Regions from separate parts of the Homo sapiens genome. Here region 1 is linked to region 2. Evidence: promoter capture Hi-C in human tissues and cell types (Jung and others, 2019). All regions are on one chromosome and are shown on one strand. The core of a region is centred on a gene start or on the middle of the fragment in contact, and the rest is flanking DNA. Distances in the headings are between cores, read along the strand shown. Region 1 holds the start of LINC01679 (long intergenic non-protein coding RNA 1679). Region 2 holds the start of SIK1 (salt inducible kinase 1).

Region 1 (6,564 bases), core at 3,516-6,015, 67 kb after region 2:
TTCTGGGCGCCAAAGCCGCAGGCTAATGCCGCCTGGTGGGCAGTGAACCCTGGGCTCATGAGACCCCAGCACCGCCACCCTTGGCCTGAGGCTCTGCAGTGTGGCCCTGCCTCTCCAGGCTTCGTCAGCACGGGGTACCTTCTCGAGCCACACTAATAGGAAACTCACCACAGGACTCACGCGTTGGCCCTGAGAACAATGGCTTGTGCCGCCGTAAAAGGTTGTAATGGACAAAAAAATAAGAAGAGTGTGTGACAAAGGCTGCAGGAGGCCCTTAAAGTCCAAGGTAAGTAGGAAATGAGACACCAGGCCCTTTACGGAAACAGGAGTGGCCAGGGAGCCCGCAGCTCTTTCTGCCTGCCCGGCTTCATTCTGTCGTGGGCTTATCCCAGCAGTGGCCCAATGCCCGGAGCTCCAGGCATGTCTGTCCCAGCAAAGGGTGCTACCCACTTCCAAGGTTCTGGAAAGGTCCCGAGGCCCCACCACAGTCTGAACCGGGCCAGAGGATCAGGGCCCCTGAGGAATGCTGTCTCTGTGCCTCTGAGCATCAGGGACCAGAGCCCTAGAGCCCACCAGCACTGGGGGGCGTGGGAGCTGCCAAAAGAAGGTTGGGGTGCTGTGCCCATACAAGGGGGAATGGAAGCTTGGAGAACTGAGGTCAGCTGTCCTCCAGGGCAGTATAACCCCCCAGGGCCGGTGTGGGGCTCAAACACAACCATGGAGCTGTCCACTCCTAAACGGGGCCTGACAATCACAGGATGGCAGATGCACGTGTGCTTCGCCTCTTTCTGCTGTAAAAATGCCCCTTTGAGTCAGTTTCTAGCCGGTTACACTGTAGTATCAGACACAGGATCTCATGTCCCACCTTCCCCAGGGTTTCCTGCTCGAGCGGCATGTCGGCTGTGCCTCTTCCTTCTGGAACCAGGGTGGAGGTGCAGCCCCTGCCTGTGGGGCATGGTCCTCATGGCCGCTGGAGCAAGCCTGGTGGAGCCCAGCCATGGCTCTGAGGCTTCCACTGGGGCAGGGCTATGTCATGTGCCCCATTTCATCTGCCAAAGCCTCCACGTGGTCCCCGCTGACCATCAGCAGGGCTGGAAAGTCCATCCTCTTACTGGGGGGAGACCAAGAGCCCCGGCCACCACAGCCGGATTGTGCAACCCCATTTTCCCTTAAGAGCAATCAGCCTGTTGAAACTAGAGATGGAATTAGCACCTTAGAGCTAAGGGCAACACAGAAGTGGGGAAGGGTGAACCTTGAGGGTGTGTCCTCAGCGGTGGGTTTGTCTCTCCCAGGCAAGGCGCTCTGCCTGCGGCTCAGCCCGGCTGAACGGGTGCTGGGCCTGTCCCTTCCCAGGGCCCAGCAGCTGAGCTGGAGGACGAAGCCCGGGTGGACGCTCCACACCATGGCCTCCAGGGAGTGTTCCCGACCTGGAGGAGGCAGGTGGGCTCCCCCTTGACCAGGATGCAGATGACCCCCTTGTGCCACCTGCACGATGCGCCCTAAGGGGCAGGGCCACTCCTCGTCTGCCTTCCTCTCCTGCAGGTCACCGGGGTGGCCCTGGTGGAGACTGACCTGGAGGGAGCCAGGCTCCCAGTGCCTCTCTCTGACCCAGCTGCAGGAGGGGCGCCTGGTGGCTTGCGTGCTGTGCCCTTGAGGATCATCTGTAACCAGCACCAGCCCCACCCTGCCCTCCGGACAGGACGCGCGGGCCAGGTTGGCGAGTCTGGAGGGGCTTTCTCAGGCATAGCCACTGTGAGAGCCGAGGTCCCCCACAGCCTGCAGCAGGGGACCTTTTCCCTGAGACCATGGGTACTTGCTGTAGTCCAGCTGGCGGGCCTGAGATCCTGACCCCATGTGCACATGGTCGGCACTATTGCATCCACTGGAAATTTCAAAGTAAAATCAGGACACGTGGGGGCAGGGAAGTGGGCTTGAGCGCTTCGCAGAGAGACCCTGCACCACCTCCCATTTGCTACGCTGGTTTCTTGAATGAGCGGCCCTCATTCATCAGACACCAATCTGCCCACAAACTTCTGACCAGGATCTGAGAATTCAGAGAAACCAGCCCCAAAACCACAGGCCTAGAAGCCTGGAACCCAGAGAGTGATTCCAGGAAATCATGGCAGGTGCACGCTGAGGTCACTTAGGCTGACCACAGCGAAGGTCAACGGCGGCCATCATAAATCAGTTTGCCCAGGACAGGCCCAGTGATGCCTGTGGTCCCAGTGCGTGTATTAACAACCTTCTCCTTTCTTCTCAAGGGGCTCAGATGGGTCGGTAGATTATACGGTCACCCTTGTCATGTCGGATTATGAACAAAATTTCAAGAGCTGCCTCCCTTCAACAAACCCACTGTGCAAAAACCCATCTTCCTAGTCAAGCAAATTAGGAAGAGATTATTCATTTTCCAAAAGACTTTTCCTTTGGCCAGGAAAGAACACCCTTAGTTTGCCAGAAAATCCTGCCAGCCGCCTCCCTGAGTGCATGGACTGCTAGATTCCGTTTTGTAAAATCGAGACAGCGGCTCAGGCGCACATGCAGTGCGTGGAGTGCAGAAGGCCTGGGTACTCCGGAAGCTTCCAGAGACAGCGTGGGGCGGCTGACGTGCGGGGAGACACAGACGTGGAGGACGCCACGGCCGCCTCGCCCCCAGGGCTCCCGGAGCGCGGCTGGCTGAGGAGCCAAGCAGATGGTGCTGCTGAGCGTTTCCTGCCTGGGCGGGAGGAGGTGGGGTTGCCGCCGGCGGGGCCTGTGACTGTGAGTGCGGCTCGCTGAGCAGCTGATGTGGGGGGTAGGGGGGGCGCGGATTACGCCATGTGTGACGGCAGAGGGGGGACAACGTGTCGAGAGACGTGGCCTTGGATGTAAGGAAGGGTCGTGAGAAAATACGCAGGAAGAGATACCCCGTGGACATGTTTCCCTTGGAAAGTGGAGGGAACCCTCTGAGCCGTGATTCCGCCTGAATTAAGCAGTGGCGGGCACTGGCCTGGCAGGCGGCTTCTACTGCCTTGGATTTGCACCTCTAAGGGGTCACAGGGGCCACCCCCGAAACAAGACAAAGTGTGATCATGGACAGGCCCTCGGGGGGCCGGAAGAAGGAACGGCTCCAGTGATGAAAGCTGAACGCCAGCTCTCTCCCCATCGTTCTCCCGGACCAGGAGAGGGCTGCTCGGCAGGGCTAGGTTTAAAAACCTTCCATGCAACTTACGAAGGCATCCACAGTGACTTCTGCTGCTGTGGTACGTTCTGCCCTCCCCTCCTCCCCGCCCCATCCTGTTCTCGGCTACAAGTTATTTATATGTACAGTGTCATCTGAACGTGCACGGGCCTATCCCAGGACATCACACACAAAGAGGCGGCGGTGAACCCAAGCCGCCGGGCCGGCCTGTGGCTCAGTGTGTGTTTCAGAAGTCCCGGCCCCAGGCAGCTCTCCTGAACAGAGCCACTGGAACTCAGGAGGGTCAGGACCACAGCCCAAACAACTGCGACCGAAAACACCCTACAGGGCTTGAGAACTAAAAAATAAGGAGGGATCTGGGCAGCCGAGCTGCCTCCTAAAGAAGCCACGTCATAGAGAAAACTGCTTGCTCTATCCATGAGACGGAGGCGGCCGGGGTGTCCTGCCAGCAGACACGGGTCTGTCCATCACCGGCCACCACGCTGCCTCTGTCCTTCACTCCCATTTAAGGGAAAACGATATCTCTTCATCTTTCTGCCCTGGACATTGGAAATCAGCGGTGAGAACAGTGCTCTTGCTACAAAATGCTCAGGTTCTAGAATGCTCCCATCTTTCCTTCCATTCCACATGGAGTTTATCCAAAGCACAAAGGCCAGTCACGGCACTGACATCCGTGGTGCCCGCTCACCGGGGAGTGGGAAGCACAAGCCTGTCCTCAGAGGACCGTGACTGTGAGCCCGCAGCTGCTTGTGGGTGGGGCCAGCCCGCAGCTCCTCCTGGAGGCCTCGGGCTTCTTGCTGCTGCATTTCTGTGACATGTGGAGGGAGGATCGTTTTGACACCTGCCTGGGAAGTTTCAAAGGAGATGGCCTCTGGGCAGGGGTTTTAAACTGAAGGGCACCACACAGATCCAGATGTGAACTGTGGCTGTTGTTTGCAATTGAAGCAGAGATGCAGAGGATGGAACAGGAGTGCTGGCCATGCTGCTCTATGGCCTTGGCCCAGCCAAGACCTGCAGTCAATGGGGCTACGGGACCCCCGCTACACAGGGACCTGGGAACCACCTTTGCCGCGGTTGACCGCTGGGCCCGCCATGCACCGCCCACACCTGGCTGTGCCTGGAGACTGAGAGCAGGGGGTGACGGTGGGCCTGGTGTGTGGAGTCCCGCAGCGGGAAGGGTGGGAGGGGAGGTGGGAGAGCGCAGTCACCCAGGGGTCCCCATGTGGGCTTGTACAGGCCTGGCCCAATCTGACAGCAACTGGGCAGGCAGAGCGAGCCCCCACTTTATGGGTGAGAAAACCGAGGCACGGAGAGGTGAATGCGCGTGGTATCAATGCCGCTAAGGCAGAAGTGAGGCGGAAAAGCCCGTCCTCGCGAGGGGCGGCCCTGTCTCCAGCTCCCAGGTACCTCCCGCTCATCTGCCCGAGGCTCCTGGGGATGTGGCTCTTGGGTTTCAGGAGGGCCCTGCTCCTCCTGTGGGAACCACGGACACGTGTGTGCCCGCGTGCCCTGAGCTCACACACACACACCATGGCGCATGGGCAGGGAAGCGGCGCTCCTGGCTACCCGGTGAGCATCTTTGCTTTCCTTCTGCTCTAAGTAGGCACCCAAGGAATACACGCGTTCACTCAGAGCCTGATTCATGTGACTGGGATAACACTGCGGGGAAAGGTTCTCACACAGTGGCTGACATGAGGATCCATTACAAGAGCCCAGGGTGGTCACTGCTAAGCATGGGGTTGAGGTGAATGGACCCCCAGCAGCAGCCAGTGACAGGGAGGGTTGGGGTGTGGGTTTAGCCGGGCAGGTGACTCTCTTTTGGGCAGCCAGGGGCTCGGGACGTGTGGACAGCACATGGTGAAGGCAGAGGCTGCGTGCTGTGTGCCTCAGAACCGGTGCCTGTTCCAGGTTAGGAACCAGAAAATCCCCTGCAGGGGCTTCTGCCCGCTCCCTCTTTGAAGTCCTGTTTTCATTTCCCCTGTGACACCAGCCTCTCCAAGCTCTATGGAAGGCTGGCTCTCCTGGCACGGCCTCCCCCGCCACTCTGGGTGCCGGCTCAGGTTCTCTGCAGACCCCAGGTTCTGCTCTCGGGTCTGCACCCAGCGTGATGGCCACCACCCACTCAGGACTCCATGGTGTCAAAAAAGTGCCAAGACCTGTTTCCTGCTTTAAAATACCATGCTGTTGGGAGTTTCTCTGAATCTTCTGTGATTCTGGAGGCTGCCTGATTTTAAAAAAATGTAGAAAATAAAATTAAAAACCATGCTGCAATGTAAAAGCCAGGATAAGCCTCTTGCAGCTGAATTCAGGTCTTGAAAGCTAACAAGTTTTGAGTTTCAGTACTTGCCCCCCAAAATGGTTGCTTATCGTGTGTGTGTGTGTGTGTGTGGTGTGTGTTTACACAGTGAACAACCTGATACCTTTGGCTGAAATGGGCTTTGTGTGGGCGTCGGGCCAGGGGGCTGCTGGGCTCCAATGTCTCCCAGCCCTGACTCCTGGGTGTTGGCCTGCCTCAAGTTTGCATATTCATTGACTGAAATCTATTTTATTTCCTCAGGAAGAGTCTCTCCCTTTTGCAAACGCCAGCCACAGAGGTTTATTTTTCTCCCTGAGAGAAGGAAGAGTGAAGGCTGAGACTGAGACAGAAGGACAGAAGGAGAAGACTTAGAAGCCAGTGAGCCCGGAACCACGAGACGCGCTCTGAGGACACGGGGCCTCGGGGAAACCGGGCACGGGCAGGGGTTGGTCTTGGCTTCCCCGCAACATTGCCGCGAGCTCGGGTGCCGTCTCCACTCGCAGGCTGGCCTGTCCTCTGCAGCCACGAGCTCAGGCACCGTCTCCGTTCATAGGCCAGCCTGTTCTCTGCAGCCTGAGGTCCCTGTGGTGCCAACATCCAGATGCTGAGATAATTCTGCCAGGGTGTTGGCTGATCGGTGATTGGTGGTTGGCTGTTCCGTGAGTTCTGCATTGATCTTGCTGGCTGAGCGTCCAATGCGGAGGGGCAGGTGCTGTTAGGGTCTCCACTCCCATCCCTCTCCCCAGGACTCATCACCCACTGCAACCGTAAGCTGCTAGGGGCTCACAGCCGTGAGTCTTTGGGACGGGTGGTCCCACCTGGCATGTAGCTCAGGCTCCTAGCCCCAGGACCCTGCCGCTGCTCCCCTCCCGCCCACATCTTGGCTTAGCCGTCTTCCCTGGCTGCCAGCCCCTTCCCCTGGTCTTAGTTGGCTTGAGCCACTAAACTGAAATAGCACACCCTGAGGCCTTCAACAGCAGACCTGATTTCTCACCATCTGGAGGCTGGAGGTCCAGGATCCAGGCCCCCAAGGCTGCTTTCTCCCCCACTCCCCCACCCACCTTCCAGGACACGCAGACTCCACCCTCTT
Region 2 (6,744 bases), core at 4,245-6,744:
AGTCTCATGCTGAGCTGTGGTGTCTGTTTCCACGGGGCCTTGAATGGCATGAAAAGGGCCCCCGATGCTGCCGCGCCCCCGATGCCGCCGCGCCCCCGATGCCGCCGCACGGAGCTGTCCAGTCGGGATGCTGAACATTGCCACAGTGGAATTCTAGGCAGACAACTTCAGCTTACGGTTCTGCTTGCCATTTGGTGACCTGGCAAGACACTTCCTAGATAAGGCTGGAAAAGGCAGGACGCCTCATCCTGTTTTAATAAAAAGTGAATAAGAAAACGTCAGCTATGAAGAGCATTTCCGGTGCTTTTTGTTTTCATCTTTACATACTTACTTTCTTGATTTTCTATGGAACCTTTTCTATTAATTTTTATACTTCGAAGAAACCTGCTTTATAAGAGAAGGCCCGGCAGTGGAGGGAGCATTTCATCGTTTTCCCATAGATGCAGCTGAGATGGAGGGAGACCCATCCGGAAGCCGTGGAGAGAGCGTCTCCTCAGCCCGCCCTGAGACGGGGGTCCTCCTCTCTCCCCCATGGTCCGGGCTTGGCTTCTCTGGGCTGTGAGATGCACAAGTGAAACGCTTCAATCTCCAAGGCCAGAGACCTTCCACCCACAGGCCTCACGCTCCTTCCTGCCACCCGCTTCCCATCGCAGCTCCTTGCTCCTCAGCTTGGCTCCAACAGCCCCAAGTCCCTGCCTCCCTTTCCCTGTCATCCTCGCCTGGCCGTGTCAGGCCGTGAAGCCGGGACAGACCACACTGCTCTGTGCACACCCCGGGCAGGCAGGCGCTGGGCAGCAGGTTGCAGATGGATGTGGACGGCGCCAAGGACCCCCACTGGGTCTGTCTTCCCAATCGTGGCCTCTGCTCTTCTTCCCCTCTGCTGAGAGCCTCTGCTCAGCATTCAGAGAGGGAAGGTGTGGGTGGCTGCCTCCTGCCCCATGCCCCCCGCCGGGGCTCCACCTCTTCTCTCTCCTGGAGCAGTTGGTGTTCTCAGGGAAGGTCCTCGCTCAGTCCACGCCTGGCAAATCCCACGGAGAGGCCCGGAAGCAGTTCCCTCCATGGCCACTTTCCTGCCAGCATTCTTTTCTTACTCATCATCTTATGCTGTTACTGTCTCCGCAACTGGAACCAACGGTCCTCGAGAGAAGGTGTCTTGTGTCCCTCCTACTGTGCCCACAACCTTCACGCAGTGCCTGACACACAGCAGGGCCTCTCGAGCCTTTGTGGACATCTGGAGGATGACTCCGAACTCACCCTCGCGTTGCACCGTCTCACCTCTCTCTGGGGACCTGTCCCTTCCCACAGTGAACTTCGAAGCATGTCTGTCTGTCACCATGTTCTGGCACAGTCTGGCCATGCTCACCTGTGTCCACCCGCTGACTCATTGCAGCTGGCACACTTGTTGCAAATGGCAGAAACTCACATTATTTTGCATAAGTAAATAGTAACCAAAAAAAAAAAAGATGGTTTACCATGCTCTACACTAGCAGCCAGCATGTCACCTGGAAACACCGAGACCTGAGCTGACACTCAGACGTCTCCATCTCCCGGGAGCCACGCTCCGTGTGGCCCTGGCAGAGTGCCCAGGATAAAGAGCACGGCCAGCACCTGCTCCAGTCCTGGTCCCCAGTGTCTGCACAAAGCTGCAGCATCCCAGAGGCTTCTGCTCTGCCTCTGGGGACCTTTGCTCCGTTTGCGGATGCGGTTTCCTTCTTCCTACAGAGAGGCAGGTGGTTTACTCCAGCGCTGCCTGCTCAGCACAGGGTGACCTCCTGCCAGGCTGTCCATGGTGCTCTTCCTAAGTGAGCACTCCCCCCCGGGGGAACCCCTGGCTCTGTTTGGGGCCTGGCTGACTCTCGCTGGGGCTGGCCCCTTCCTGCACCCCCCTCCCCCGCCGTCCGACCTCAGCATATGGCTCAGGGACACAGACACCCAAAGGCCTCTTGGGTCCTCAGCCTTGATATCGGCCACAGCCCTGCTTAAATGTCAAGAAAACGCATTGGCCACATGAATAATTCCTCACTAACGGCAGCGACAGAAACCGGAACCAGAAACCCTAGAGGGCTGGAGCGGGGAGGGCCGACTGGCCCGTGAACAGGCACGTTTCTGCTGCTTTGCCGGCCTTCGTGGTCCATTTAAGCAGCCCGTGGAAGGCCTAGCCTGAAAGTGGGTGCTGTCTGAGATGGGGAGGGGCCCTGGGCCCGGTAGGATCCACACAACTGTGGCAGCCACGGAACCACAGGGAGCCAAGTGTAGGAGGTGAAGGAAGCAATGCCCTGGGGGCGGACGCTGGGACTGGGCAGTCTCTGGTTTGACCTGTTCGCGGGGGATTCTTGACTTAACCTGTGGACAACTGGGCCATTCCCTGAGGGTGGAGGGGGCTGGGGGCTTTTCTCCTACCTGCCCTCTTCCCAGGCCAGGGCCGTGGCTTCCTGACCTAGTGCACACATGTCTGTCTGTCAAGCTCTCCAGATACAATGGGGCAAAATGACCAACGTGGCCCCCGGGTCCCTGAGAAGGATGCCGCTGCAGTGGTTAATCTGATTTTCTGGCACCTAAAGCCGCTAGGCTGAAGCCTAAACAAACCAAAACAAAATTTAAAAAGTACAAAACCACCTGAAGCAAAGCCAGGAAGACAGGGAAGGGCCTTAGGCGTCGAAGATGGGAGGGTAGGGTCGGGAAGAGGAACTCGTCTGACTCCTGGCTGCACTGGGAGATTCCTTCCTCACAGAGGGCGGCACTGGGGCCAGCTGGGCACCCATCCCTTTGCAAAAATGCTGCCCCACGCTCCATTCTCTGTGTTTATCAATTGATTTTGAGAGTTTTGTGACATGCCAGTGGCCAGCGTTACAACTATGAATAATAAATGGACCCATTTCCTGTTGGGGTTTCCAGTCTTAAGGCCTAAAAAACAAGATGAACTCCAGAAACACGGCAATCATAAGACAAGCTGAAGAAAGTCCATGTGGAAAGGAAAACTGACTTGCCGTTTTCCACAAATCTGTAATAATATGCAAACCATAATAATAAAGTACCGTTCCTGCAGACTTTGGGAGCATTCCTTCCATTATGTTCAGTGAGGAGCTTCTCCAATCATTTGCTTGTACCATCCTTACACTCACACCATGTGTTTTATTTTTCCTCGTGTTAAAGGCACGGAAGACCAGAAAACAGAAAAGAAATCAAAGCTTCTGAGAGGAAATACAGCCTCGGGGGGTCAAGGACACAAACAACAACAAAAGACATTGGGTAACAGAGACCAGGTTGAAGCACAGACTTAGTTATGAGGGTGCCAGGGGTTCCCCCAGTGGGGAGACGGGACAGCCGTTCCAAGCTTGGCCTTTTCCTCTGTGCTTCCTGCCTTTCTCTGCAGAGCGAGCTCCTTGCCCACGGGCCCAGGGAAGGGAAAACAGGATGGCCATGGTTGGCACAGGGCTGTTCTGGGTTTTGGAAGCTCAGGGCTGGGTCAGGGTGAAAGGTCAAGTGCACCTGAGTTTGGGGACCTGTTCTGCGGAGGCAGTTTTGGCTGCAGTTTTTATTTGGTGCTGATGCAATGTTTCCAAACAGCCAGCCAGGTGTTTGCAAATACCTAAGACCTTTTGGAAGACTCTGGCTAGGGTGGGAGGGGTGGGGAAGCCTGCTTCCTGGATGCGGGGGGCAGTATTTCAAGTCACAGGCTGAGGGACTGAATGGTGAGTGTGATCAGGGGCCTGGTTTCTCCCCCACCCCGCCTTTTATCTTTGTTCTTTTTTGAGACAGGGCCTTGTTCTCTTGCTCAGGCTGGAGTGCAGTGGTGCAATGACAGCTCACTGCAGCCTCAACCTCCCAGGCTCACGCCATCCTCCCACCTCAGGCTCCCAAGTAGCCGGCCCCACAGGCGTGTGCCACCACACCTGGCTATTTTAAAAGTATTTTATAGAGGTGAGGTCTTGCTATGTTAACCAAGCCGGTCTCAAACTCCTGAGCTCAACTGATCCTCCTGCCTCAGCCTCCCAAAGCACTGGGATTACAGGCGGGAGACACGACGTCCAGCCTTGTTTTTGTTTAGTTCTCCTAGGAGCGGATTAACAGGGTGTTGGGACCTCCAAAAGGAAAAAAGGCAGTTGTACACTGTTCAGCTGAAAGGAACTAAAAATATTCCCCCGTATTCTTGGTATATAAACCTGGGACAAAGAAAAACACTCTGAACGATTAAGGAAAACTTTGGGACTCTTCATTTCCTTGAAAGCCTTTGAAAACCAACTGACTCCCAAACAACCCGTGTGTGTGTGTGTGTGTGTGTGTGTGTGTGTGTGTGTGTGGCGATTGGGAAATCTGTGGTCAGACCCTCGGGCGAATGAGGAGAAGCTCATCCTCGTTTCTCCGGGCCCTCCTCCCAGGCGTCCGTCCAGGCAGGAAAGCCTCCCGAGAAGGGTTCCAAGTTTTGTGCCAACTCCCCTGAATTCTCGTTCCCCCTTCTGTGAAGTAGTGTTATTTAACACAAGGAAAACTGACCCTAGGCTCGATCCAGAATCTAACTCCCAAATGGGTCCTCAGGCTTAAAAAATACCTTCGCCCACAGCCTCTGTCTCCCCTGAAGAAAACGTTTTCCGTTCGGATGAGGCATCGGCCACGGGCAAGCAAGTGGTCCCGCGCCCCCGTCCCCTACCCAGGCGGCCGGCCTGGCTCCGTCACCGCCCGCAGCGTCCGCCCGGGGCCCGCGCGGGAAGAGGGTCCCAGCCCCACATGCTGCGGGGGCAGCCCCGGGACGCGCAGACGCCAGCGCCGCTGAGGGCCGGGGCCGGGACCGGCCGCGCGGCGGGGGCTTCCAGAGCGGCCGGTCACGCTTCCTTAGGTTTCAAGTTTCTAACTTGCTGAACATTTCAGATTTTAACAGCAAAAGCGGCTGACGTCCCCGCGGGCAAGCGGCCTCTCGGGGTCTGCAGCGCCCCAGGGCATCCGCGCCGCCAGCCCCACGCGCGAGCCCGCGAGGCCCCCGGGCCCCCGCACGTCCCGAGGCTCTGAGTCTGGACGAACGCAGGCCGCGTGGAGGGGCCGGCGACCCCTGCCCGAGAGCCGTCCCCTCCTGGAGGGAGCGAGCACAAGGCGCCCGCGGGACCCGGCCCGAGTGCCCGAGCGTGGAGGGGCGGGCGCGCCCTCGGCGGTGGGGCCGCCCGCAGTGCCCCCAGCGCCCGGGAGGGGGCGCCCGGCGGAGCGCAGGCGGGCGGGCCTCGGGCGGCGGGCGCCCCTGACGTCACCGGCCCGCGGTCGCCAGGGCAACGGCCTCATCCCGCGCGCGTCAGAGCCGCCAGTCTCTTGGCAACCGCCCGATCTCCCGCTCTCCCTCCGCCCGGCGCTCGGCCGCGCGTCGCTCTGGCGTCAAAGCGACGTCAATGGGCGGCCCCCGCCCGGGCGGCGGGGGCGGGGCAGGGGGCGGGGACTACGGGGGGCGGGCCGGGGCGGGCCGGGGCGGGGCCGGGCGCCGCGTGCGGCGGAGCGCGGCGGCTCCGGGCTGACATGCGGCGCGGCCCCGGAGGCAGCAGCAGCGGCGGCGGCAGCCGGAGCAGTAGGCACCCGAGCAGCGCCAGCGGCCGAGCGGGCGGCTTCCTGGCCTGGGCGCTCCGGTGGCGGCGGAGGTGAGGCGGCGGCAGCGGCGGCAGCGGCGGCAGCGGCGGGCTCCGGGCGGGCGGAGGTGGCCGCCGTGGGGGCTCCGCGCGGGCGCCGGGCCGGGGCTCGGGGTTGCAGCCACCGCGCAGGGTCCCTGGCCTTGCGCGCGCGGGGTTCGCGGGCGGGGTTGGCGGCCTGGCCGCCCTCGGGCTCCCCTTTGTTGGGGGGCCGGGGTAGGAGTGAGTCCGCGGGGCTCAGGGGCTGGGGAGCCGGGGGTCAGGTTGGAGCCGACCGCGGGCGGAGATACCGGGTGTGGGGGGCGGGTCCGCGATCCCCGAGGTGCCTGGGATGTCGGGGGTGGGGACCGGACGGATCGCGGGCGGCGGGGGCAGGGTGTGGGAGCGGGGCAGGGGACGGTCCTGGGATCCGGATCGAGCCGACCTCGGGTGGCAGGGCCAGGTGTGGGAGCGGGTCCGCGCCCAGAGGTGCTAAAGGGGTCGAGGGTGGGGACGGAACCGACAGCGGGCGGCGGGAGGCGAGTGTGGAATCCCGGCTCAGGGGGTCCCGGGATCGGGACGGAACCGGACTCGGGCGGCAGGGGCCTCTATGAGAGCGGGTCCGTGCGCCCCGCGGGGCTCAAGAGGGTCGGGGGTCCGGGTGGAGCGGGCGGCGGGGGCGGGTCCACACCTCCCACGGGGCTGGAGGGGCCCGTGGATAGAGTGGGGGCGACAGGCGTGGGAGCAGGTCCCTGCGTCCCGTGGGGACTGGGGGCTCCGCGGGCACGGATGGAGCCGACCGCGGGCGGCGGGGGCGCTGGTGGGCTCTGAGCTCTGTGCGGCCCCGCAGGTGCGCGCGGAGCCATGGTTATCATGTCGGAGTTCAGCGCGGACCCCGCGGGCCAGGGTCAGGGCCAGCAGAAGCCCCTCCGGGTGGGTTTTTACGACATCGAGCGGACCCTGGGCAAAGGCAACTTCGCGGTGGTGAAGCTGGCGCGGCATCGAGTCACCAAAACGCAGGTGCGTGGGGGCGGTGGGACCCAGCCGGCGGGGCCTCCCCACTGGACCCGGGGCGACCCGACCTTTGGCGGGTGGACCCCATGCAGATTCACTGCTCCAGGCTTGATTGTCGTGGTGGGTAAATAGTAACCGTTTTTAGTTC

Evidence for each region. The method cuts DNA at HindIII sites, captures the fragments that hold promoters and counts their contacts. A contact is called where the count stands out against the background at its distance.
Region 1: a fragment that was not itself captured here is called in contact with the fragment with the promoter of SIK1 in region 2 in 4 of the 25 tissues and cell types used here (H1 embryonic stem cells, IMR-90 fibroblasts, hippocampus and 1 more).

Annotation. Positions count from the first base shown.
Region 1 is chr21:43,358,658-43,365,221 of GRCh38, reverse strand. It overlaps LINC01679 (long intergenic non-protein coding RNA 1679), which reads left to right and starts at 2,873. Exons shown (of 2, transcript NR_131902.1): 1 at 2,873-4,330; 2 at 5,736-6,564. RefSeq lists enhancers at 1-524, 1,078-1,617, 3,464-3,613, 4,397-4,953, 4,954-5,511 and a silencer at 2,634-2,783. The HindIII fragment of the contact is 6,310 bases long and covers 1,611-6,564 here.
Region 2 is chr21:43,425,881-43,432,624 of GRCh38, reverse strand. It overlaps SIK1 (salt inducible kinase 1), which reads left to right and starts at 5,494. Exons shown (of 14, transcript NM_173354.5): 1 at 5,494-5,615; 2 at 6,433-6,602. The coding sequence starts at 6,447. LOC124905029 (a long non-coding RNA gene) reads right to left here and starts at 3,041. Exons shown (of 3, transcript XR_007067891.1): 1 at 1-3,041. RefSeq lists a silencer at 1,602-1,896. The HindIII fragment of the contact is 13,239 bases long and covers 1-6,744 here.